Linked DNA regions of Homo sapiens: region 1 is linked to region 2. Evidence: promoter capture Hi-C in 16 types of primary human blood cells and fetal thymus (Javierre and others, 2016). All regions are on one chromosome and are shown on one strand. Each heading gives the region's core, a stretch centred on a gene start or on the middle of the fragment in contact. The rest is flanking DNA. Distances are from core to core; before and after follow the strand shown. Region 1 has its middle 15 kb from the start of TOM1L1. Region 2 holds the start of CA10 (carbonic anhydrase 10).

Region 1 (6,627 bases), core at 3,133-5,632, 2.7 Mb after region 2:
GCTTGAGACCAGGAGTTCTAGACTAGCCTTGCTCAACATGTTGAAACAGGTTTCAACATGATGAAACCCTGTCTCTATAAAAATTACAAAGTTATCCATAGTGGTATGTGCCTGTCGTCCCAGCTACTCAGGAGGCTGAGGTGGGAGGAACAATTGAGCCTGAGAGGTCGAGGCTACAGTGAGCCAAGATTGTGCCACTGCACTCCAGCATAAGCAACCAAGCAAGACCCTGTCTCGAGACAGAGAGAGAGAGAAAGGAAAGAAGGAAGGGGAGGGGAGGGGAGGTGAGGGAAGGGCTGTTCAAAAAGAAAAAAGCTTATAGAATAAGAATATAAAGAAATATTTTTGTACAGATGTTCCATATGCTTGTGTTTAAAGCTAAATGTTATTACAAAGGAGATAAAAAGTTAAAAAAATTTAGAAGTTTATGAAGTAAAATAGTTATCGTAAGCTGAAGTTGTTTTACTACTGAAGAAAAAAATCAAAATAAATTTAGTGTAGACTAAGTGCTTTTATAGTTTACAGTAGTGCACAATAATGCCCTAGACTTTCACACTGACTCACTACTCTCTCTCTGTCTCACTCAGCGCAACTTTCAGTCCTGCAAACTCTAGTCATAGTTAGTGCCCTATGCAGGTGTAGCATTTTTTATCTTTTGTATCATATTTTTACTGTACCTTTTCCATGTTTAAATGTTTAGATATGCAAATACTTATCATCGTGTTCTAATAGCCTACAGTACAATAACATGTCATGCAGATTTGATTTGCAGCCTAGAAGTAACAGGCTATCAAATGGCCTAGGTGTATAATCGGCTGTACCATGTAGATTTGTGTTAAGTACACTCTATGATGTTCAGATAACCAAGAACATAATTGCCCAATGACAACACATTTCTCAGAACATATTTCCATTGTCAAGTGATGCTTGACTGTAATTGTTTTGGTAACTCTTCTTAAAAATAACACCATGTTTCTGTAAGGAAAAGCAAAATTTAGAATTTAGTTGTTTTGGTAACTCTTCTTAAAAATAACACCATGTTTCTGTAATGAAAAGCAATATTTAGAAGTAGAATAGACTACGTTCTCTGTCCATGAATAGATATCACAGTAAATATGCAAGTGTGTGCTGGAAGCAAACACAAGGGGCACCTAATTTGAGGGTCTTAAAAGATTGGTAAGAATTATGTTGAAAAGGTAGGAGGCCTACTTAACTTCTTCTTATTACTTATTACATTTGTCATAACTTACTGTAATAACACTACTTATTACATTTGTTTACCTTTCCCTTTTAGGTGTTAGAGAGATTTTCCATTCTCTTCGTTTATTCTACAGTCTCACCATTCTACTAATTAGGAAGTTCTCAAAGGCTCTAAATTCTTTTCTCTGTAATTCCAATTCATTCCTAAGAGGATGCTTTTGTTGACAGAAAGAAATCCTGCCTTATAATCTCAACACTTGGGTGGTTTGATTTCTGAACAGAGACAGGTATTGACCTCTATGGGCAACTCAAGGCTCCTTTCTTCTCCCCATCCTCCTTTTGCTCCCGCCCAGGGATGAGTCAGGGTGAGGAGGAAAACACTTCAGCCTTCAAGGGGCAGGAGTGCTGGATGACAGACTTAGTTGGCAGGCTGTGCTTTGAAGGGTAGAAGTTTTAACATATGATAAAATGTCACCTTATTCGCATGGATTTTTCTCCCCTTTCTGTAGGGGTCCCTCAAACACCAGCTACAACCAGGGCTGCTTCCAAATGAGAAGAGGCTGACCAGCTCTGTCACTTCTGATGTCCCCCTTACCAGGGCTAGGCCAGGGCACAGCCAGGGCGCGGATATCTTTGCTTTGGGGTAAAGGGGCTTTTTTGCACTCCAGCTCTCTTGGAATGGCTTCTTCTCAGAACAATGGGACAAAGTTCCAAAATTGGAAGTGAACTTAGGAGGAAAAAGTGGTCATTTTCCCCAGCTTTGGTTCTAGCCTCTTAACTAAGGCTAAAAAGAATTCTCCATAATCCAAATTCTTTCTAAAGTTTTACACAGGCATGTATCCATTAATGACAAGGAAAAGTTCGGAGAAATGCATCATTAGGTGATTTCATCATTGTGCAAACACCACACAGTGTACTTACACAAACCTAAACAGTTTAGGCTACTATATACCTAGGCTAGATGGTATAGCCTATTGCTCCTCGGCTACAGACCTACACAACATGTTATTCTACTGAATACTGTAGGCAACTGGAACACAATGGCAGGTATTTGCACACCTAAACATATTTAAACATAGAAAAGGTACAGTAAAAATGCGGTAGGAGATTAAAAAATGCTACACGTGTATGGGGCACCTACCACGAATGGAGCTTGCAGGACTGGAAGTTGCTCTGGGTGAGTTAGGGTGTGAGTGGTGACTGAATGTTAAAGCTAGGACATTACTGTACACCACTGTAGACTATGGAAACACTGTACACTTAGGCTACACTAAATTTATTTTAAGTATTTGCTTTAATAATAAATTAACATTAGCTTACTGTAACTTTTTTACTTTATGTGATGGTTAATACTGAGTGTCAACTTTAGTGGATTGCAGGATGCAAAGTGTTGATCCTGGGTGTGTCTGTGAGGGTGTTGCCAAAGGAGATTAACATTTGAGTCAGTGGGCTGGGGAAGGCAGACCCACCCTTAATCTGGTGGACACTACCTAATCAGCTGCCAGCCAATATAAAGCAGGCAGAAAAACGTGAAAAGGCAAGACTGGCCTCGCCTTCCAGCCTACATCTTTCTCCCATGCTGGATGCTTCCTGGCCTCGAACATCAGACTCCAGGTTCTTCCAGTTTGAGACTGGGACTGGCTCTCCTTGCTCCTTGAGCTTGCAGACAGCCTTGTAGGACCTTGTGATCATGTAAGTTAATACTTAATAAACTCCCCTTTATATATATACACACACACACACACACACACACACACACACATACACACACACATATGCTATTAGTTCTGTTCCTCTAGAGAACCCTAATGCACTTTACATATATTTTAATTTTTAAACTTTTTGACTCTTTTATAATAACATTTAGCTTAAAACACAAACACATTGTACAGCCATACAAAAATATTTTCTTTCTTTATATCCTTATTCAGGCTATATATCCTTTATATTTTTTTATTTTTTAAATTATTATTAGTTTACTTTTAAGCTTTTTTTGTTAAAAACTAAGACACAAACATACACATTATCCTAGGCCTACACAGGGTCAGGATCATCAATGTCACTGTCTTCCACCTCTACATCTTATCCCACTGTCTTCAGGGGCGATAGCATGCATGGAGCTGTCATCTCCTGTGACAACAATGCTTCTGGATACCTCCTGAAGGACCTGCCTGAGGCTGTTTTACAGTTAACATTTTTTTAATAGGTAGAAGAAATATACTCTAAAATAATAACAAAAAACATAGTAAATATATAAACCAGTAACATAGTTGTTTAGTATTATCAGTATTATGAGCTGTGCATAATTATATTGCTATACTTTTATAAACCTAGCAGAGCAGTAAGTTTGTTTACACCAGTGTCACCACAAACACATGAGTTATGCTTTGCATTACAATGTTAGGACAGCTATGATGTCACTAGGTGATATGAATTTTTCAGCTCCATTATAATCTTAAGGGACCACCATCGGATATGCCACCTGCTATTGACCTTAGCGTTCTTATGTGTTGCATGACTGTATTGAGGTTTGAGGACAAACCCTGCTAGAAATAAACTGTTTATTCTTTTTTGACTGCATTATGTTTATATCATCCCAAGGGACTTTGCTCAAGTTTTTCCAGGTGACCTAGCCCAATCCCATCCTCATTCATTCTATTAATGACATCCCTAACTTTCCCTTCCCACCTCAATAGAAAATGCAAGCCCAAACTGAGTCAGTGTTTTCCACCTTGGTGTCTTTCCTTTTAAAAATGCTGTTCTAGGTAGCTAAAGATATTCTGGTTGTGCTCCCCACTTTCAAGTGGCAAGTTTTTTTTGTGAGTCAATTACTAAGAGTCTTCAGGACTTTCTACCCAGCACTTGCCTAGTAATTTGCTATGACCAACCTACAGCATCTGTCAACTCTTCCCATGGATTAATAGATCTGTAATTAAAATCCAACAGAGAGCCCCAAAATTAATTAGGACATGAAACAGCCATGTAAGCAGCATGGAGCACAGCTCTGTATAAAGAAAAGACAAGCTTCATGTAAAACAAGTGTATACCCCAGGCAGGCCTCTGTCCATCTCTCATCAGCTGGCCCCTGAACTGCCTGTTTCTGATCTGTAAACTCATTGTGAAAGTGCCTAATAGAGGGCAGCCACACAGTGGGTAGCAATACATCGCAGTGACTGCTTGACTCTTTACTTGAAATATAATCCTCAGGGGAGCTTATTTCTTCTATTTACAGAAAAAAGGAAATTTTAGAGAGATGAAATATCTCATTGCTCACACCTAGGTTTTCCCTTCAGATCTCCATGCTCTGTGGATGAAGACTTCCTTTAAGTTTTCTGGAGCCTAAGCTTATGGACATAATGTCATGAAAGCAGGATAGTGCTGCACATGTATCTGCTTCTTACTGTGAGACCTTGGGCAAGTTATCAATACTCTGTGCCTCAGTGACTAGCACATGGCAAGTGTGCAAATGCCAGGTATGTTATTAATGCTGATTGGCCTCTAACAGAAAGATAATGGTAGTGATGTCTATTTTCTCTTGTTCTCAAGAGGTTATACCTAGGGGGTCCATATGAACTTTAATGTACATCCAGATTTATAAAAAACGGTTTCTGAAAGCAAGGTGCCATGTTTTATGCAACGTTTGGCAATTAACTGTTTTCTGTTGTTGTTGTTGTTTGTTTGTTTTTTTAATAATGAGGCCAGGTGCAGTGGCTCCCACCTGTAATCCCAGCACTTTGGGAGGCTGAGGCGGGTGGATCACCTGAGGTCAGGAGTTCAAGACCAGCCTGGCAGACATGGTGAAACCCCATCTCTACTAAAACTTAGCTGGGCATGTTGACACAGCCTGCAATCCCAGCTACTCAGGAGGCTGAGGCAGGAGAATCGCTTCAACCTCGGAGGCAGAGGTTGCAGTGAGCCGAGATTGTACCACTGCACTCCAGCCTGGGTGACAGAGCGAGACACCATCTCAAAAAATAAAAATAAAAAATAAAAAAAATAAGAATGAGCCAGAAGTAAAATGTCCTTCAACATACCTATGAAAGGAGATATATTAACACATCCAAGAATTCACTCCTTCAATGATAAAACGTCCTTCTACCCTGAATAGCTACAAAATTGTACCTTTTTTCTTGTATGGTGGAAGAAGAGAATGGAAATTTCTTCCAAAATCGAAGTTGTCTTAAGATTGGCAGCCAGAGCAGGAGGCCATAAAACACTGTCAGAGATGACAAGGGTTGAATTAAGTTCCAGGAACTGTTAAGAGCAATGTGAAGGACTCATCTCTGGTCAGAGATAACTGGGCATAAAAGCGTATTGATTAATAATGTAACCTTCCTTTAAACCTTTTCCCAGGCAGTCCAGAAACCTTCACTGCACTCAGGTGAGAAACATGAAAAGTTTTTCCTCAAGATTTTCAATAGAAGCAACAACTGCAATAAACCAGACTTGTCATGGAACAGTTTTCACCATATGGGGCCCTGATGCCTCACTGAGCAGTGACTGTCAGGCCTGAGGTGGGTACACATCCATGCTTCCTCCTCGTCAAATGCCCCCAGAGAAACTGGCTGTGCATTTTCAAGAAAAAAAATGACTTAGGCTTACTCAATCCATTCAGCGACTAGGCAGAAAGTATAAAACAAATGATGGAGAAATCTCCCAACGTAGCCAATATTTGCTGATAAATATTTGACACACACCTCTGGTTCCCAACCTACAGAAAGAAGAGAATGTCACCTAGGCTCTTCGGAGTTGTCAGAAATAGATATTCATCGAGGTTACCTCTAGCAATGGAAAATCAGCTGTGAGGCTACATGTGGAAATAGGAAAAACATAACTCCTCCAGGAACCCAGCGATGGCTAGACTGAAGGTGGAATGCAGATTAATCATGGTAAGATTATTTTAGGACACACAATTCCCAAGACCCACAACCCCCACCAATGTGAATTTTCTCCAATTCTCTAGTCTCGATCCTATTAACTAACTACCCCACCCTCTAGTTGGTTATCTTTTTAAAATATTTTCATTTTACTTTACTGATAGCTTCTGATTACTCTTGGCTCCTGATGCAGCTGATCCCACTAACAATTGCTCTGTCTGTCCATCTGTCTGCCTATCTAGAGACACCAGTTATTACAAAGATCTCATACAAGGTCCCTGCCAGGCCAACATATTGGGACTGGCTAACAGATTTGTCACCCTTACTTTGGATGCCCCCTCCTAATCGAATCAGCCAAAATGCTGGGGTCGAATGATTCAGCACAGGGATTTTCCAAGTATGACCTGCAGGGCAAACCTGACCTGCCATCTATGTTTGTACATTCATTAGTTTATATATCGTCCATGACTGCTTTTGTGCTACAATGGCAGACAGAGTTGACTAGATGCCAGCAGAGCTTAAAATATTTACTACCTGGCCTCTTACAGAC
Region 2 (7,021 bases), core at 868-3,367:
AGGGAGGGGATTGACAGGGCTGAAGGAAGAGGCAGGAAACATGTCTCTCCACCCCAGTGCTGCTTAAATGTGGCTGCTCAAAGGGGCAATATCCTGCTCTCCTCTTCTGATGACTTCATGGGAAGTTGGCCGAGTCCCCACTTCTGCAGAAGAATGCAGGCAGAAGGGAGCACTACAAATGGGCTTTTCCTTGGGTGCTTAAGTGGCAGGTGTGAAGGGAAATGGGGTGGGTGCCTTCAATGGGAGGAGCCACTGAACTGGGGAATACTGCTGGTCCAGGGGCTTTCCCCTTTCCCTCCCAGCTTCCTCCCAACCCCAATTCCCTGCATCAACAAAGACAGTGCTCAAAAACCAGAACTCGTCCTAACACACTCAGGCACAGGTGTCCACAAGCCCAACCTCTTTCACCTCAACACCCTGAAATCCCGTTTGCTCTTAAAAGCACAGACAGGCCCAAGTAGACTGAGAGGTCTGAGCCAGCACATCCTTGCTACTGGGAATTAAAAAACACCGTGATGTAAAGAAAGTGGTATTTGTGACACTGTAGTGCTTTAACAAGAAAATTGGGGGGGTAGAGGAGGGTGTGTCAGCAGGTTTCAAAGCATCACAATCAGTCCTGATGTGTTTGGGTAAGGCATGGAGGACATATCTCTGATCCCTGCTGGTACTCTCCAGTCCCGCATCCTCCCGCAGTCTCTTGAAAGTGGTTAGATACCCGGGCAGGGCCCCGCGTCCATTTTGCCAGCCAGGAACCACCGAGTCTGGGAACTTTGAAAGCCAGGGGATGGGGGTGGTTGTTGCCAAGGCTCGGATTTCGGCGCCAGAGTTCTCAGCCAGGAAAGCAGTTGAAAATCAACACCCATCTGCCTCTTCTTTCTCATCCCCCACCACTTTTTCCTTCACCCTTCTAGGACTGCACACAGATCCTAACCACCCCCCCCCGCAAAACACACACATTCACACACCCTTGGGCTGAGAAGATTTTTGATTCTGAAGGCGGCAAACCCGCAGAACTCAAAGGGTCTCGCCACCCCTCTCTCTGCCCCGCGGCTATATACAATAAAACCCCATACACCCCAGACATCACAACATAATCCAAATCAGCCAGTGACTTCGGCGCGTCCCGTACCTGATATGCAGACGATGAAATTGGCTTGAAGAAGAAAAAGCACCTCCCAGACTATTTCCATCCTCTGATTCTCATTCCAAGTGCATCACTCGACGGGAAAACGGGGGGAAGGGGGGAGCCCGACACGGCACACACACATACACACTCGCACACACTTCCGAGCGAGTGCACACTCGCACTCCCACCCGACAGCCGGCCAGGGACAGTCACCCCCAAGATCAATATCGCAGTTTGAATTGTTCCGGCAAATCTCCCCTCGGGCTCGACGGATGTGCGCCCCAGATGTGCTGACACATGTCCGATGCCTCGCTGCCTTGGAGGTCTCCCCGCTCGCGTGTCTCTTCTCTTCGCACCAGCGGCGGAAACCGCACTAGCAGCGGCGGCGGCGGCGGCGGCGGCAGCAGCCACCTGAAGCCACCAACACTGGGCTCTTCCAGCAAAAACGAGACCCCGATTCGTCTGGCGCCCCAAGAAGACATAGACGATAGCCCCCCGCCGGGCTGCGCCGTGCAATTCCGGGCTCCCGGGAGCGCGTAGCTCGCTGGCTAAGCCCAGGCAGTCCGCGGCAAGTTGCCCTCGAAGTCCGCCCCCCTCACCGGGGCATGGTCGGAGGGTGGCTGCTGCGCTCCGGGGCAGTTCTTCTCCTGCTTCCGGGGGGCGGGGAAGGAGCAGACACAGCAGACACACAGAGAAAGAGAGGCAGGGATTATTGCCCGAAACCGCCAGCCGCCGGCAGCCTCCGCCGACCCTCCCTGCTCCCCAGGTCCGCGCGCAGCCTGCAGCCTCTCAGCCGGGTTCCGGCAGTGCGTCCAGGGCGCCGAGGGGAAGGGCTGGGCCCCGGGGACTGGGGCGCGGTGGGGGCACACAGACTCTCCAGGTCGCGCGCGCCCTTCCTGCTCCTCTGCTATTTTCCTGAACTCCCCAGAACCCCCAGTTGCCTGGCTTCCATCGCCCGCAACTAGCGCCGCTGTCGAGATTTTCCGCAATACAACTGCAGGGGTCGTTATTTCCTCGCCTACGGATCCCTACGCTTCCCAACTCAGAGAGGAGGAGGACAGGTGGGGGCGGGAGGGGGAGGAGGAGAAGGAGGCTTGGCCAGGTGAGCGTCCTCGCCGCCGCCGGGCGTCCCAGCGTCAGCTCCGCAGCCCGGCACCCGGGGGCGGAGGCAGGAGGCCCGGGCGGGGAGGTGAGGCTGAGCGCGGCCATGAGGAGGAGGAGGAGGAGGCTGGGTGTCACAGCTTCAGGCCACCTTGGCCGCCGCCTCGGCCCCAGTCCCTGGCAGCCGCCTCCGCACTCCGCCCCGCCCTGGCTGCCTCTGTTACCCTCCAGGATTTTCGAGTTTCTCTTCTTAAAAAGAACTTCGTGCTGCGGGTTCGGCGCGGGAGACCCAGGCAGGACTCATCCTGGGAGTGCTGTGCTGTGCTCTCCCTCCGCTGCGAAATATTGGAGATTTTTTTGCATAATTCATTCCCTGCCCTCTCCATTTCGTCCCTCTCATGCCCCCCACCCTTTACCCCTTTCCGTGCCAGTGCCAGAACACTACTTACCCCAGAGTTCTTTTCTCTGCAGGTTCCTAGACCAGGTGCAACTCTTGCCTGCAAGTCCCTGCCTCCCTCCTCCCGAAAAGGGGGAACACCGCCTTTCCAAGTCCGGGTGCCAGCAGCGGCTGCTGCCAACTGCGCCTTCGCCCAACTCCAGGAGGATCCGGGACTATTGGAAACCCGGGCTTTAGAGGAACGGGCTTCCCTTCTTGTCTTTCTTTTATTCTGCTTTTCTTTAGGGAAGCTCTAGTGCTTTGGAGGCTTTTGCTGGGCTCCAGGATACTTTCCGCCAACGACACTCAGCAGCTTCCACTGAAGGAGATTTCCCCACCAAACCCGCGCGCGCACACACACACACACCCAGCGCGCGGCTCTCCAGGGCCCCAGGGGAAAGTAGGGGCGGCGCGAGCACCACCCACCCACCCAGGCCGAGGCCAGGGGCAGCCAGTCCGCAGAAGGTCTCGTGGGGAGGCGGGCTGTCTATAACCTAGGAAAGACTTGCACCCGGTTGCAGTGTGGATGCAGGGGAATTGAAGAAAACCCTGTGCTCAGAACTGCTTGCCTAAGAGGGCTGGGAACGAAAGGGGAAAGACAAAATCTCAACAGATTTGTCTGCTTCCATCGCTGCAGTGGTGGTTTGCGAAAGCTCAAACCTACCTCTTTGGGGTTATTGAAGAAGAGGAGGGAGCGTAGAGGGAATCCCTGGGAAGATCCAGGATTTCTCGGCGCGCTTGTCCCGATTGGGAACTGTGACGTTAGGAGATTTTGCACAAGCGCGGATGAACACACACATAACAAACACAAACACACACATACCCCGCGGGGATTTTTTATCCACTTTTAATATTTGATGTTTAGAAGCTATTTCAGTATAAACCTCGGTCTAAGAACTGCACAAAGGGTAGATAAGTGGAGATGGAGGAGGGGAAGGAAAGGGTGCCCGTTCATCCGCACAGAGTCAATCTAGTGAATCTTCCCGTGTTGATCCCAGCACCCAGGCTGTGCGACATCTGAGGGTGCGGAGTGGGAGCTAAAGGAGTTACATTACAGTGCTCCCAGGGTTCTTGAAGGGACTCCAACTGCCCAGGAGTCTGGCGGGTCTTTTTGCTGAGTGGCGGGGAGAAGAGGGAGGAAAAAGAGAGAACGCAGAGCAGATCAGCAGCTCTCTGAGCTGTCTGGGCTGGGCGGCTGCGGGAGCCAGAGCTACGTAGTCCCACCGACTCTAGGGATTCGAAAAAGGAACCGCCGACAGACCTGCCTACTCTTAAAGAAGGAGATGTGGCCGTGAGATCTGTTCTGTGAAACAAAGGCCAAGGACTCTAGGTGGTCAACACATTAAAAATCTAGGCCCAGATGAAATAAATCCAGCATTCTTATGTAGAGAGCTTCCAGGCTCAGCAGGGAAAAGCATGAAACTTCAGAACATTAAAAGAATTCCGGATAGTGAGAATTAGCCCATTTGGGAAATATATGGGGGCATTTGTCTCCGTGCCTTGAAAGTAGACTGCATGAAGAATTATTATTATTTTTTCTTTCTTTCTTTCTTTCTTTCTTTCTTTCTTTCTTTCTTTCTTTCTTTCTCTCTTTTTTCTTTTTTCTTTTTCTTTTTTTGAGGAGAGAGGGAGAAAGAAAAAAAAAAAAGCAGTCTGACAAAGATGAGCAGATTCCAGCCTGGTGAGAGTTCAGAACCGTGGACAGCGACCTACCATCCCTGCTTGGGTGGGGAGATAGGCTGGCAGAAGAGGTCTCTCCTCTGGAAGCAGAAGCATGGTGCCTGAATTTTTATGTCACTACCCACTCATTTACTAATGAATTCTGCAATTATTAAGTGTCTTATATGTGTCAAACACTGTGGCAAGATGCTTGGGCTTTGTAATTGAAAATGCATTATCCTTGCTTTCAAAAAAATCTGCAGACCATATATCCCTCTATATTCTGCTTTAAGAGCCAATGCCAGTAAAATAATACTTTATTTCCACCCTTTCAGTCTGCATACTCACCTCCAGCATTCCCAAAGAATATTTAATCTGTGATCTGCCACTAAGTGCTTTCAGTTTTTAAAAAAGGCAACTCACATGACAGTATTTGTTAGTTTAAAAAAAGTTTGAGTGTATTGATTGTTGTGTGTGAAGTATTATGTGTATTGATTGTTATGTGTGAAGACTATGTGTGAAGATTCTGAATCCCTTACATAAATTATCTCATTTAATCATCATAATGTGATGGTGAGATAAATGTCATTATCACTTCCCTTTTACTGACAATAAAACAATACCAGGGTAGTTATTTGCCCAAGGCTCCACAGCTGCAAATCAGTAGTGTAGAGACCATAGCTGGAAAGTCTAAACTCAGAAGTCATGTCACACCACTTCCTTATATGCTCTGTAAAATGAAAAATATCATCTTGGGGAGGTTATTTTGCACTTAAAGAGAACAGAAGTACACATATGACAGCTGGAAGTTAATCAAAGGTGGTATTAAAATTTAATGGTAGACAATGCAATTTAGAACCCAACTACATTAGTTGGGATAAGGAAAAGATCACTGGGAATCAGAAGTAATCAAAAGCGTTTCTAATGATAGAATTTTGGCACCTGCTAGATGTCAGTTCTGGTTCTGGCACTTGGAATACAGCAGTGAACACAATAGTCCCCAACATATTGATTCCATACTAGCAATTGCTAGAAGAAAGAGCCATACATTTTTGAGTCATTTCTAGGCTACTACATTTCTAGAGTAGGTTGCTATATGTTTTTCTGAGAAATTCACCATCTTAATACAGAAAATAACTCAGTAAAAAAAAATGCATTAAATAGAAGCCTTTAAATTTAAGTAAATTCTGCCTCTCTTTTTTGTTGTTTTTTTAGCCCAAAAAACAAACCAAATAAATGTGGGAAAAAAATTCCATGAAGCTAGAAAATATTCTTAGACGTTTTCATATTTTAATGTGCTTATATGTATATCTAAATAACTACAAAGAATCTCTCCACATCATACCCGCCTTTATCTTTTGTTCCTTTCCTACTCCTCTACATTTCTGCACTACAAATCAAGTGTAAGTATCTTACACATTTAACAGAGAGTCTTGGCCAAGCCCACCCAAGTGTGAGAGATACCAATTGTCCTATAGAAAGCAAGGAATTATATTTCCATTTTCCAAGAGAGAATAATATTAAATTCCTTTGGGTTCTTCCTGTACCTTCTCTTTCACTCAACGCCATAGAAGAAGGGATGACTCAACTGATGATAAACTTTTAAGAGTTTGACTTTCATTAGGGTGCATTTATCAGAGGCCAAGCACACTGTATTAGAAGACAAAGGAAATCTATACCTCTTCCCACTTCTCTATTTTCTTGGTAATGCTACCTTCAGGCACAGTGAGCTCACAATTTTAGTGTGTGTACCTATGCATATTTATTTTGTATGCCACTCTCAAAGAGCAGAGCTAGTAAGGTCTCTGCTTTCTTGCAGTACTTAGCTTTCTGGGGCCAGTCACAATCATGCATGTGGCTGGGAAAGCATATTTAGAGCCTTCTTTGTAGACCCAACCATCCTTATAAGTGATGTTCTAGTTTTGAATTTGGGGTGAATAATTGGAAAATGCCACTTCAAAACACATCAAGCTCTATTTAAGGACTGTCCCATTCCCATTTAGAAAATGTTTCTATTTTTAATTGCTTAGATGCCAGAGGGAAAGAAAAGTTAGTGATGAAGCTACCCCTAACTTCTACCAAAAAGATAAAATTACCCAAATAAATGGAAAGATATACCATGTTCATGAATGAGAAAGCTCAATATTGTTAAAATACCAATTTTCCCCAAACTGATCTATAGAGTCAATATAATCCTAATAAAAATCCCAGCAAATTTTTAAATAGAAATTGTCAAGCTGTTTCTAAAATCCATATAAAAATACTAGGGAACTAAAATAGCCAAAACACTTTGGAAAAAGATAAACAAAGCTGGAATATTTAAATTATGTAACTTCAAGGCTTATAAAGCTATAGTAATCAAGACAATGTAGTACAAGACAATGTAGTAGAATATAGACAAATCAATAGAACAGAGAGAGTCTAAAAATAGTCTGACATATATTGATTGAGTTGATTTTCAACAAAGGTGCACACTCATTTCCTTGGAGGAAGAATAGTCTTTTTAACAAATCGCCTTTTCAATATTTCGATGTCTATTTTTGAGAAAAAATAAAGATGAACTACAATCCATACCTTACACTATATAAAAAAAAGATGAACTCAAAATGGATTATAAACCTAAATGTAAAACCCAAGCCTTTAAAACTACTCAAAATAAATAAAAGAAAATCTTTGTAAGTTTGGGTTAGACAAAGATT

What was found. The method cuts DNA at HindIII sites, captures the fragments that hold promoters and counts their contacts. A CHiCAGO score of 5 or more calls a contact.
Region 1: a fragment that was not itself captured here is called in contact with the fragment with the promoter of CA10 in region 2 in 2 of 17 cell types (M2 macrophages and erythroblasts); the score reaches 5.4 in M2 macrophages.

Annotation. Positions count from the first base shown.
Region 1 is chr17:54,882,571-54,889,197 of GRCh38, forward strand. No RefSeq gene overlaps it. Among named protein-coding and RNA genes, the nearest start is that of TOM1L1, 15 kb to the right of the region's middle. The HindIII fragment of the contact is 320 bases long and covers 4,223-4,542 here.
Region 2 is chr17:52,156,597-52,163,617 of GRCh38, forward strand. CA10 (carbonic anhydrase 10) reads right to left here and starts at 2,118. Exons shown (of 9, transcript NM_020178.5): 1 at 1,130-2,118. The coding sequence starts at 1,190. RefSeq lists a silencer at 2,673-2,967. The HindIII fragment of the contact is 15,466 bases long and covers 1-7,021 here.